3 separate regions of the Homo sapiens genome follow, and all the other regions are linked to region 1. The links are contacts of gene promoters, found by promoter capture Hi-C in blood cells and fetal thymus (Javierre and others, 2016). All regions are on one chromosome and are shown on one strand. The core of a region is centred on a gene start or on the middle of the fragment in contact, and the rest is flanking DNA. Distances in the headings are between cores, read along the strand shown. Region 1 overlaps SLC39A9 (solute carrier family 39 member 9). Region 2 holds the start of DCAF5 (DDB1 and CUL4 associated factor 5). Region 3 holds the start of EXD2 (exonuclease 3'-5' domain containing 2).

Region 1 (4,180 bases), core at 1,015-3,514:
TTGTGAACCAGGAGCAGTGGCGCATACCTGTAGTCCCAGCTACTTGGGAAGCTGAGACAGGAGGATTGCTTGAGCCCAGGAGTTCCAGGCTGTAGTGTGTTATGATTGTGCCTGTGAATAGCCACTCAACTCCAGCCTGGGCAACATAGCGAGACCTCATCTCTAAAGACAGATACAGTCAATGAATGGATGGACAGAATGATGGAACTGTGGTGAATATAGTTTAATAATAGTGTGTGGTACATATCAAAATTGCTAAGAGTAAATTTCAGATGTTCTCACCACAAAATATGATAAATATTTGAGATGACAGATGTTAGTTTTATTTAATTAGTCCACATTTTATTCATGAATCATAATGTCACTTTATACCCTATAAATATATATAATTATAAATTGTTGATTTACAATAAATTTTTTAAAAAATCAATTGCGTACATCACTGATATTCTTAAACCCTTATTTGGAAGCTTCCCATGAATAACTTAAAGTTGCTGTGTTCTCTAGATGTCCCCAGTGTCCTAGACAGCACCAGTTAAGAACAGTGAGTGTTTTTTAACTGGGACTTCTTCCTGACCCTGAATTTTACTTGACTTAGTTTTTCCTCTTTCTCTCTTCTAATTCACAGAGCAGTAAAGAAGCCCTTTCAGAGGTGAACGCCACGGGAGTGGCCATGCTTTTCTCTGCCGGGACATTTCTTTATGTTGCCACAGTACATGTCCTCCCTGAGGTGGGCGGAATAGGGCACAGCCACAAGCCCGATGCCACGGGAGGGAGAGGCCTCAGCCGCCTGGAAGTGGCAGCCCTGGTTCTGGGTTGCCTCATCCCTCTCATCCTGTCAGTAGGACACCAGCATTAAATGTTCAAGGTCCAGCCTTGGTCCAGGGCCGTTTGCCATCCAGTGAGAACAGCCGGCACGTGACAGCTACTCACTTCCTCAGTCTCTTGTCTCACCTTGCGCATCTCTACATGTATTCCTAGAGTCCAGAGGGGAGGTGAGGTTAAAACCTGAGTAATGGAAAAGCTTTTAGAGTAGAAACACATTTACGTTGCAGTTAGCTATAGACATCCCATTGTGTTATCTTTTAAAAGGCCCTTGACATTTTGCGTTTTAATATTTCTCTTAACCCTATTCTCAGGGAAGATGGAATTTAGTTTTAAGGAAAAGAGGAGAACTTCATACTCACAATGAAATAGTGATTATGAAAATACAGTGTTCTGTAATTAAGCTATGTCTCTTTCTTCTTAGTTTAGAGGCTCTGCTACTTTATCCATTGATTTTTAACATGGTTCCCACCATGTAAGACTGGTGCTTTAGCATCTATGCCACATGCGTTGATGGAAGGTCATAGCACCCACTCACTTAGATGCTAAAGGTGATTCTAGTTAATCTGGGATTAGGGTCAGGAAAATGATAGCAAGACACATTGAAAGCTCTCTTTATACTCAAAAGAGATATCCATTGAAAAGGGATGTCTAGAGGGATTTAAACAGCTCCTTTGGCACGTGCCTCTCTGAATCCAGCCTGCCATTCCATCAAATGGAGCAGGAGAGGTGGGAGGAGCTTCTAAAGAGGTGACTGGTATTTTGTAGCATTCCTTGTCAAGTTCTCCTTTGCAGAATACCTGTCTCCACATTCCTAGAGAGGAGCCAAGTTCTAGTAGTTTCAGTTCTAGGCTTTCCTTCAAGAACAGTCAGATCACAAAGTGTCTTTGGAAATTAAGGGATATTAAATTTTAAGTGATTTTTGGATGGTTATTGATATCTTTGTAGTAGCTTTTTTTAAAAGACTACCAAAATGTATGGTTGTCCTTTTTTTTTGTTTTTTTTTTTTTTAATTATTTCTCTTAGCAGATCAGCAATCCCTCTAGGGACCTAAATACTAGGTCAGCTTTGGCGACACTGTGTCTTCTCACATAACCACCTGTAGCAAGATGGATCATAAATGAGAAGTGTTTGCCTATTGATTTAAAGCTTATTGGAATCATGTCTCTTGTCTCTTCGTCTTTTCTTTGCTTTTCTTCTAACTTTTCCCTCTAGCCTCTCCTCGCCACAATTTGCTGCTTACTGCTGGTGTTAATATTTGTGTGGGATGAATTCTTATCAGGACAACCACTTCTCGAACTGTAATAATGAAGATAATAATATCTTTATTCTTTATCCCCCTTCAAAGAAATTACCTTTGTGTCAAATGCCGCTTTGTTGAGCCCTTAAAATACCACCTCCTCATGTGTAAATTGACACAATCACTAATCTGGTAATTTAAACAATTGAGATAGCAAAAGTGTTTAACAGACTAGGATAATTTTTTTTTCATATTTGCCAAAATTTTTGTAAACCCTGTCTTGTCAAATAAGTGTATAATATTGTATTATTAATTTATTTTTACTTTCTATACCATTTCAAAACACATTACACTAAGGGGGAACCAAGACTAGTTTCTTCAGGGCAGTGGACGTAGTAGTTTGTAAAAACGTTTTCTATGACGCATAAGCTAGCATGCCTATGATTTATTTCCTTCATGAATTTGTCACTGGATCAGCAGCTGTGGAAATAAAGCTTGTGAGCCCTCTGCTGGCCACAGTGAGGAAAGTAGCACAAATAGGATACAGTTGTATGTAGTCATTGGCAACAATTGCATACAATTTTACTACCAAGAGAAGGTATAGTATGGAAAGTCCAAATGACTTCCTTGATTGGATGTTAACAGCTGACTGGTGTGAGACTTGAGGTTTCATCTAGTCCTTCAAAACTATATGGTTGCCTAGATTCTCTCTGGAAACTGACTTTGTCAAATAAATAGCAGATTGTAGTGTCTGGTTTGGTTTGGACAGTAGTGCTTTCTATCATATTGTTGTGTGCAATGGTAATTTGTTCTACTGGCCAAAGCCTCTTTCAGCAGTGCCTTGCCATCATGCTTAAAAGTTTGGCTAGTATATCTTGCTGGATGGAGCCTTGAACTCCGGCAAGGATTGAACCATCTGACTTCCAAATTTGCCTTCCCCTCTGGACCTCACTATTAACAAGCAAACCTTTCAGGGCCCTCTTAGCTCTCAGAAGCTATGTATGGGCTTTCCCAGATTTTAAAGCTGCTGCCTCGAGAACTACTCATTTCTCTCCTGGTCAGCAGACAGAAATAGCCATACTAATCTCATAGGGCTCAAATGCATCTTCAGGCAGCAGGGAACCAAGCAGCGTGGCACAGGCCTTCTTGACTGGAGGAAGAGCTTGCTGGCATGGTGGGCAGTATTCCAGGAGAGGCCATGTCCGTGTTCACTTCTTGGCACATTTCAGTTCCGTTTTCCTCTTGTTTAAAACTGCCTCTTTAGATGTGGATGCCTTAATGCTGTAACACATTTGAAAACATTGGCAATACTTAAGTTGCTGCCATGATTACAGATGGAATTATTGGCTACCAAAGAGACGCAATTGATGATGAGAAGCATGATTCTTGCTTCCATATAACCAAAGTTAATCTTAATTGCAATTTGACTCCGTTTCCTTGGTAGGGATAGACTTTCTTCAGATTCCAAGTGCTCTCTTAAATGGCAAATTAAGTTAAAGAATACTACTGCTCCATTCCCCTCACTTATTCTCCAGTTAATTGCTTGTCAGTTCCATTTCAAGAAAGCAGTGATGTTCCAGGTTTGATTCAGTTTTCCTGTGCACACTATTGCCAAATTTTTTTTTAGCAAAGATTCTGCACTGGAACGTAGACAGTTGGAAACAGTACTACCTACCTAGAGGTTATGTGTTTTCTCTTTCTCCCCGCTTTCACCTCTTTCTTTCCCAATTCAAAACAGCCAAGTGAGCCCTGTTCTGGTATTTTGAATCATTAGAGAAAAGAAAGGGAGTGGCTGTTTTGAGTTGTCCTTTCTTTGCAGAAAGGAGAAAATGTGATTGTGTTTTTTTTTTACCAGCCTACTTCTAAGTGTCACTGCCTGGTTTTTCTCTTTTTCAAGGATTAGAACTAAGAGGACACACCAGCATCGGAGTGTATTAAGCCCCTGAAACACATGGTAGCTAGGGACTGAACACAGGAACCGTATGACAGCAGCACAAACCCCCAAAGGATGTTCCTGCCTTGTGGGCCCCTGAGCCCCTTGGGAGACTGAGAATCATGACCAGATTCATCCAGAACTGCTGCAGTGTTAAGTGAAAATCCTCTGTAGTTGTTCTG
Region 2 (4,180 bases), core at 1,249-3,748, 310 kb before region 1:
TTATGCTTGCAATCTCAGCACTTTACGGGGTGAGGCAGGAGGATTACTTAAGGCCAAGAGTTCAAGACTAGCCTGGGCAACATAGGGAGACTCCACCTCTACAAAAAAAAAAAAAGTTTAAATTACCTGGGCATGATAGCACCTGCCTGTAGTCCCAGCTACTTGGGAGGCTGAGGTGGGAGGTTAGCTTGAGCCTGGGAGATCAAGGCTGCAGTGAGCAGTGAGTGATAGCCCACTGCACTCCAGCCTGGGCAACAGAGTGATACCCTGTCTCAAATAAATACGTAAATAAAGGTGTGTCAAGCTGGGCAACGTGTGACTACTTACAATTCCGTTAACATGATTAGTTCAGTTGTCTCTAAAAGAGTACCCCCAAACTCCCTCACTCGGTAGGTAAAGTTTACTTGTGTCTGGGAACTTCTCTGTTGTAATACATCGGGAGTTTTATGAATACATAAAAAACAACAGCAGGGAAACTGGGAGCTAGGTCTATAAAGAAGAGGTCTTCCCCCATTTTTGCTCTTCAAATTTATTTGATAAAATTTTATACGGTGCTGTGGGGGAAGGAGGCTTTTGTCTGAAAGATCAGGTTTCTTCAGAGGATGATCTAGGGCCAAAATCTACCTAGTCAAAGAGAAAACGATCTGGGGTACAAAAGTCAAGTCAGTTCTGGACAGACCCCAGAAGGTTTATCATAAAATGATCACAGAAGACCTTTCTCTTTGCTACCCCCAAATTGGACTGTACGCCCCATGTCACTTCCGAAGGTTACTCGCGAAGACGGATGCTTTGCCAAGATCCCAGAAGTTTCTGGCGAGCTGCTCACGGACACAAATTAGAAAGACATTCAGGGACCGACCTGGGTGAAGCTAAGCGCCACGTCCAGCGCTGGGTTCCCCCTTCATCCCTCCCAATATAGGAAAAGGGACAGAAGAGGGCAGCAGCCAAGCAGGAACGCCCAATCAGCCGTCTTCACCCCCCCTCCCCTGAGCCAGGTTTCGGGGAGCCGCCCCCTAGCCCTCACGTAGGCCCATTCCCACCCGCCCCTGCCCTGGGCCCGCGACCCCAGGGAGGAGGGGACGACGGCGGCGAGCGCCCCCACCGGCAGCAGGCGCACCTCCCCAGGGGCAGCTGTCGCCGCGGCCCGCGGGGCCCGGGCCTCCCCGGGAGCAATAGGCTATCGATTCAGCTGCCTGTCGCTAGGAGCCCCGGGAGAGCGAGGCCTACACCGCCCGGCCGGAGCCCCGGCCTCGATTTCGCCACTTTCCCCAAACCAGAGGGAGAGCCCGGGGGCAACCAGGCCCGTCTGGGCGAGAGGGAGGAGAAGCAGAGACCACTTGCAACAGCGGCCGCGGGAAACGGGGTGCGGGGCGCCGGGCTCCCGCCAACAAGTCTCCCGGGGGTCCCCCACCCTACCGCCTGCCTCGCAAGTTGCGCATTCAAGTTCAGGCTGGTGCCCTTTAGCCTCCACAGCCCTCGCCACTCTCGAAACTGTATTAAAAACAAGACGCAGAAGAGGCCACAACCGAACGAAAGGCGATGGTGCTGGGCCTCTAAGAGCGCCGAGGGGGGCGGCCCACAGCGACCCTACCGCCCCAGTCACTTCCCCTCTGCAGACCCCGCCAGCCCCCGGGTCGCAGCCCCCGGCCCCTCGGCGTCCGGGTCTGTCACCGCCCGCTTCCCAGCCCCAAGACCCCTTTTCCTTAACGCCGGCGACGGGGGCTTCAGCTCCCCCTTGCCTCCGGCGCTCCTCGGCCTCCTCACCCTCCACATCCCCAAAATGCCCCCAGCACCTTTTAAAGTACGCGGAGGAAGAGTTTGCCGTCAAACTTTGTAGAGCGGTAACCTCGCCCCCCTCCCCGACCTACACTTTCAGGGCAGGCATCAGGAGAGATCACTTTGCACTTGGGATAAAGCGAATTAAGGAGCTGTCAACCATTTTAGGTCTTTTTTATAGAAGACATCCTCTCCTTCCCCTCCCCCTGCAATGGTTTTAATTTGACACCAAACCTTCCCACCGCAGAAGGGGGTAGAGAAAGGGAGGGGGTGGGGACAGAGGGCAGGAGGAGGGTGACGGGGGAGAGCGAGAGGGGGAGGCTGGGAGGGTGCGGGGAGGCGCGGGGAGGGGAAGGGGGTTGATTTACCTGAGACCAGCCACTGGCCTCCATTGTTGGAGAATTCAATGGCATTGACACAGCCGAAGTGGCCGAGGAGGTCCTTCTTGTAGAGGTTTCTGCAGCCCCGCAGGCGTCTCCTCTGAAAGTCCTGAGTGAGCAGGGGGTCCCCATGCAAGCCCCGCTGGGACAAGAAGCCCACCACTGACCTCATGCTGCCCCCCAGGCCAGCTCTCCTCTTCATGCTGGAACCGCCGCCGCCGCCGCTCGCGCCGCCGCCCCTCCCTCGGCCTCACGCGCGGCCGCTGCTCCCCCCACCCGGCCCTCCCCCCGCGCTGCGATCCGGATGGTTCTTTAACCAGCCATGGCAGGCAGAGCGAGGTGTGCAGACACTCGGCGGCGTTCGCGGCTTCCTGACGGTCCCCTCCCTCTCCTTCCCCCCGAGGCTCCTCCCTCTGCCTCTCCGCCTCCTCCAGCAGCTGATCCTCAGCTGCCGCCGCGCTTCCGCGATGCGCGGCCCTTCCGCCGGCTGCGGGGCCCCGAGAACGCGGCGTCGGCGCCCCTCCCCTCCGCGGGGGGCTGGCCGGAAGAACGCGGGCGGCCGGCCCGGAGACCACGGGCGCCGGCTGCTTTCCCAGTTGAGCCGCTTCCCGCCTGGGGACCTGGGTGGCGCCGGGCGGAGACCCCTCTGCACCCCAGCGCCCCGCACTCCGCGGAGTTGAATGCGCGTAACAATCCGAGTGGCCGCCGGGCTTTGGCTCGCCTTCCTCCCGCGGGGACCCGCGGGCCGGCTGCTGCCCGGAGGCCAGCGCCCGTACGAGTTCGGGGAAAATGCGGCTGGAGTGGGGGAAGGTGCGGGCGGGGGCTCCGGCCCTCCTTCCTCTGCTGGCCTCTGCCTTGGGCAGTCCGGCCCTGCCCGAGGCGGGGGAACCGGGAGGTAGGGCCGCACACTTGGAGGAACGTTGCCTGGGGGTTTTGTTCGCGCACCCGCCCCTTCCCCTCTCCCGGTAAATGTTTAACACCACCGCTCATCCCCAAGTCCAGTTCTCTAACTCTTCCTTCCTCCGGTCCTTTAGTTGAAAAAGGCTAAATTGTTCCGTCTGGCAGATTAGAGTGGTACATGGGGGGAAAGAGAAAGGGATAAAGAAGTAGGAAGAAAATTGCCAAAACCGAGTTGATGAAGTCCCGAGAAGCACGAGGTACTTCTCTCCGTTCCAGATAAATTTGCACGACACAAGAAGCGTGATTTGAAACTAACGATATATGTTATTTAATTGGGTTCGGTGAGCTCCTCTTAAAGGTCTCGAGTGGGGAGCACTGAGGTTGGACAGCTGTTAACCAGCAGCTGCGCTCCAGGCCAGAAGTGGCTGCACTTCAGTAGGATGGGAGTCACCGCGTTGACCCTAGTGGGTGTTAAATGCTTTGGAATTCTACCAGATACAGTTAAAAGTCCCCTTTTCGATGTATTATAGTACTTTTCCTGGAAGCTATCCTCTGTCATTAAGTGGTAATAAGCTACTGAAATAGGCACTTGTCAGTTTTGCCCTTTCAAGTTAGCAGGAATTACATCCTCTGGACCAGAGATGGCACAGGAGCAGTTGAGTAGAATCATCATTGAAAGATGGGCTGTACATCTCTGATCTGGGGAAAATAATAATAATTTTTTTTAAAAAAAAAGATCGGCTGAACATGGAAGAGGTTTACCCGTCAAACAAAATTATTTACTTCTACTTTTTGTTCAGTGACAATACGATTAATCGTACTAATAACAAATATGCAAATGTTTCATATAAAAGTACATATTCTAGCAAACATTACTAAACAGAAACCAAATTCCATCAGAACTTGGGGAAAAGGGCAAAAAATAAATAAATTTTTAAAAGAAAGAAATCAAATTCCAAAAATGTGAATTTTAATGGAATATTGTTCCCCTAAATAGGAAACTATGTGGTACTTAAAAGGTTTTATCCTCAGGATGCCTTCTAATAATCCTTTGTGTTTATTCATTATAATCACCACCTAAAAATTAGTAGCAGTATACCAGCTTTATTAAAGATGTATAGCAC
Region 3 (4,180 bases), core at 726-3,225, 270 kb before region 1:
GGGTTAACAAACTTTTCACTCCTTTACTATCATTTTTAAAAACCCTTTTATCGAAGTATATATGAAACCAGAAAAGTGCTCACAAATATAACCTGAACACACATGTAAAGCCGCACTCAGATTAAGAAATAGAACATTATCAGCACTTCGTGAACCTCCTCATGTTCCCTTCCAGTTATTACTACCCTAAGATTAATCATTATATACAGTGACTTCTAATAGCAGGGATATTTGGGTAGTTTCCCGTTTGGGGCTGTTGAAAGTATGGGTATGAGCTTTTTTTTGTACATGTCCTTTTGGTGAATACATGCAGACATTTCAGTTGCATATATATAACTAGGAGTAAAATTGTTTTTTGTTGTTTTTGTTTTCGAGACAGGGTCTAGCTCTGTCACCTATGCTGGACTGCAGTGGTGTGATCACAACTCACTGCAGCCTCAAACTCCAGGGATCAAGACGTCCTCCTGCCTAAGCTTCTGGAGTAGCTGGGACTACAGGTGCACACCATGATGCCCAGCACTTTGGGAGGCCGAGGTGGGAGGATCGCTTGAGGCCAGGAGTTCAAGACCAGCCTGGGCAACACAGTGAAAATCCCTAAAGTGCTGGGATGACACGTTGAGCCACTGTGCCCCAGCTAGGGGTGAAATTGTTGGAACAAAGTCTTTTCACATATTCAGATTCAGTTGATACCGCCAAACAGTTAAACAAAGTGATTGCATCAATTTATGTTCCCTTCAGGAGCATATGAGAGTTGTGGTTGCTCCACAATCTTGCCAATACTTGACATTTTCTTTTTCATTTAGCTATATCTCATTGTGGTTTTAATTTGCATTTCCTCTTTATCCTTTGTTTTTTAAGTGTTTCAAGATGGAGCAGATAAAAATTCAGGGAGTTAATCCTCTATAATAGCTGGAAATTTCCCCCATGGGTACTCATTCAATGGAATTTAAAACATTTGCCCCTGTATTGAAGGCAATATAGTATAAAGGATGGGGCCACATGCTCTGCAATCAGAAATATGAGGTTTGATTCCTAACTCCGGTGCTTACTTGCTGAATTACCTTGAGGAAGTTATTTAACCTTTTTCTATTTTATGTAAAACGGCACTAATAATAGTACTGCCTCACAGGGTTGTTATGGGGATTAAAGGAGAAAAAATAAGTAAAATGCTTTGCAAAGTTCCTAGCAACAGGTGAGCACAAAGTCAACAAATGGTAGCTATTATTATACCTTATATTGGTTATTTATGCACATCTCATTTCTCCTTCTGTTTTACACATTCCATGAGAAAGGAAAAGCATGCATGTAGCACAGATTAACTGCCTCACATATAATTGCTAATAAAGACTGATTGGATGAACGATTTAATATATAAACAAAAAGTATTGTGGTTATCGCTATAAAAGATGGCATAGGTTGGGCATTCACGCCTGTAATCCCAGCACTTTGGGAGGCCGAGTTGTGAGGTTCGCTTGAGCCCAGGAGTTCGAGACCAGCCTAGGCAATGTAGGGAGACAGTATCTACAAAAAAAAAAAAAAAAAAAAAAAAGGAGGGTACATAAAATTATTATAGTGGCTATAGGATAATGTGCACTGCTAATGAAGACTACATTATTTAAATACAGTGTCTTTCCTTCTATTTACTGTTATCGTTTAGCAGAAAAACAGTACGCAGGATACTAAAGAAGGAAAATTCGATGTCCCATATTACATTTGTGAGAGTTCTGGAGGTTTCTCCCTTCAAAGCCAAAACCAAAACACAAACATACCATCCCAGTAACAAATGCGTCACTTTTCTGAAGAAGACGTTAAGCCCTTCCAATTTTAACAGATCCTTTGTTCAACAGAGGAGAGAGACTGGGTAGGCATCACCTGCCCCAGTAGCTTCCGTACAAAATGGCGTTGCCCGTTCCCACACGCCAGCTGGGATTACGTCCTCCAGGCCTGTCGCAGGAACGGAAGTGGTTACGGCCCTAGTGAATCCGGGTGGGTGCGCGCAGGCGGCCGCACAGGTTCCAGGTCTTTAACGTGAGCCCGCTGCAGGTGTGCGGCCCAGTCCGAGACAGCAGGTAAGTGAGGCTCAGAAGCCGGCGAAGCCTTGCACCAGGATTGTGCGCGGGGCAGGGGGTGCTTCCAGTGCAGACTAAGAGGGGTCGTGGAGCGGGGGGATATTACCGTGTACGGGGGTGACATTGCGGGGCCCCCGCTGTCCCGGAGCGAGTTGGCCCTGCCCCTCTCCCCGCCCCTCGGCGTGACCCCCTCGCCCCCGTCGCACACGGCGGGGCGGTTCAGCACCCAGGTGCGCAAGGAGGGCCTCACCCCTGCCCGCGGCCTCCCACGCCCTCCTTGGGCCTCTCCTTTCGACCCCCTTACCCTCTCCCTGGGAGACTCTACCAGACCTTCGAGGCTGCGTGTCCCAGTCAGCTAAAAAGGAGGCCCCGCCCGCGGCACCTGGTAGCTCCTCGGGCGCTGCGGGTTCGACGCGGCAACAGCTGCTGTTTTCTCTCCTGGATTCGTGTGAGCCGCCACCCTCGCTACCATCCCTGTCCTCCCAGACCACACCCTGCTCTGGGCCTTGCCGGGAGCCACCTCTTTGGCTTTTCACATCCCTGGGATGGATCAAAACTAAGAACCTTAATCATTATTTATTACAAAATTGACATCTGCTCCTTAAAATACAAACAAACCAATCCCCCGATAAGCTTTTGATATGATTCCAACATTCAAACTCCTTTATATACCCTCTCCTCAAAAACACAAAATTGAAATTATACTTTATTTTCTTAGTTCTGTTCCAAGGATAGAAGGAATTGAAAGGTTTTGTTAATCATAGGAATTAGGAAGTGCGGGTTGGGGCGCAGCGGGGAAGATGGATTAAATTTGGTCAAGTTGAGCTTGTTTTAAAAATGTATTTTTAAAATATTCTAGTTATAGTCCGTGCATAAAGCCTTGTAACAAAATTATGTAAAAATTTTAAACACAGATCTTTCTTAGCTTGATGTTCTTGGTGGTGAGGGTGGGGAGTGTGGAAGACAGATCCTCTTTGATTTTGTTTTTTTCCATCTCCACCTTCTTTACCAGTCCCTTTCCCACAAAATAAGAACTGTTGTCAGTTTGTGTGTATTTTTCTTTGCATTTATTTGACAAGTATGTGTACGTATAAGATATATGTTTGTAAGATTTCGCTTTAAACTTTTACAAATATGCATGTTTTATGCATTACACAACTTGACGTTTTATGCTTAAAAACGGGTCTTGGAATTTTTTCTTTGTCAGTACCTAGAGATCTACCTATTCTTTCTACTTGCTCTGTAAATTCCATGGTTATGTAAGATTCCATAGATTGTTTCCAGTTTTTCATTGTTAGACACAGTATGGCGGAGAACATCCTTCCCACACACCTCTGTGAGAGCCCATGTGAGAGCATTTCTCAAGGATGGGTACCTGCAGGTGGAATTGCTGGGTGGGAGAGTATGGGGATTTAGGAATGCCAAACTGCCACCCACGGTGGATAATAATTTCCTCCATTCTCTCTCTCTTTTTTTTTTTTTTTTGAGACAGAGTCTTGCTCTGTTGCCCAGGTTGGAGTGCAGTGGCGTGATCTCAGCTCACTGCAGCCTCTGCCTCCCAGGTTCAAGCGATTCTCCTGCCTCAGCCTCCCGAGTAGCTGGTATTACAGGCACCCGCTACCACGCCTGGCTAATTTTTGTATTTTTAGTAGAGACGGGGTTTCACCGTATTTGCCAGGCTGGTCTCAAACTCCTAAACTCGAGTGATCCGCCTGCCTTGGCCTCCCGAAGTGATGGGATTACAGGCGTGAGCCACCGTGTCTGGCCCACCATGCTCTTTTGATCATTTAATGGTATCGATCTTTTTTGTTTTTGCCAATCTGATGGATGGAAAAGTGATTTCTCTTTGCTGTTTTAATTTGCATTCCCCTGATTACTATTGAGATTGAACATCTTCATGATTGTCAGCCATTTGTATTTCCTCTTTTGAGAAACATCTCTTTCTATTGGATTGTCTTTTCCTTATTGATTTATAATAGTATTTTATATGTTCTGGATTTTGATCTTTTGTTATTCATATGTGTTTATAATATTTACTCCCTGCTTATTGCTTTTTTAAGTTGTTGCTTGTCTTTTAACTATATGGCATCTTTGTTGAAACAAAGTTTAAA

Evidence for each region. The method cuts DNA at HindIII sites, captures the fragments that hold promoters and counts their contacts. A CHiCAGO score of 5 or more calls a contact.
Region 2: a contact is called between the fragment with the promoter of DCAF5 here and a fragment that was not itself captured in region 1, in 1 of 17 cell types (megakaryocytes). The highest score is 6.8, in megakaryocytes.
Region 3: a contact is called between the fragment with the promoter of EXD2 here and a fragment that was not itself captured in region 1, in 4 of 17 cell types (endothelial precursors, megakaryocytes, erythroblasts and 1 more). The highest score is 6.6, in endothelial precursors.

Annotation. Positions count from the first base shown.
Region 1 is chr14:69,457,735-69,461,914 of GRCh38, forward strand. It overlaps SLC39A9 (solute carrier family 39 member 9), which reads left to right. Exons shown (of 7, transcript NM_018375.5): 7 at 629-4,180. The coding sequence ends at 859. Among named protein-coding and RNA genes, the nearest start is that of PLEKHD1, 25 kb to the right of the region's middle. RefSeq lists a silencer at 2,554-2,603. The HindIII fragment of the contact is 585 bases long and covers 1,973-2,557 here.
Region 2 is chr14:69,150,621-69,154,800 of GRCh38, forward strand. It overlaps DCAF5 (DDB1 and CUL4 associated factor 5), which reads right to left and starts at 2,499. Exons shown (of 9, transcript NM_003861.3): 1 at 2,145-2,499. The coding sequence starts at 2,358. RefSeq lists silencers at 814-1,273, 1,434-1,483, 2,304-2,943. The HindIII fragment of the contact is 17,790 bases long and covers 1-4,180 here.
Region 3 is chr14:69,189,523-69,193,702 of GRCh38, forward strand. It overlaps EXD2 (exonuclease 3'-5' domain containing 2), which reads left to right and starts at 1,976. Exons shown (of 10, transcript NM_001193360.2): 1 at 1,976-2,069. All of the region lies in intron 3 of GALNT16-AS1 (GALNT16 and EXD2 antisense RNA 1), which reads right to left. RefSeq lists a silencer at 2,197-2,386. The HindIII fragment of the contact is 2,229 bases long and covers 472-2,700 here.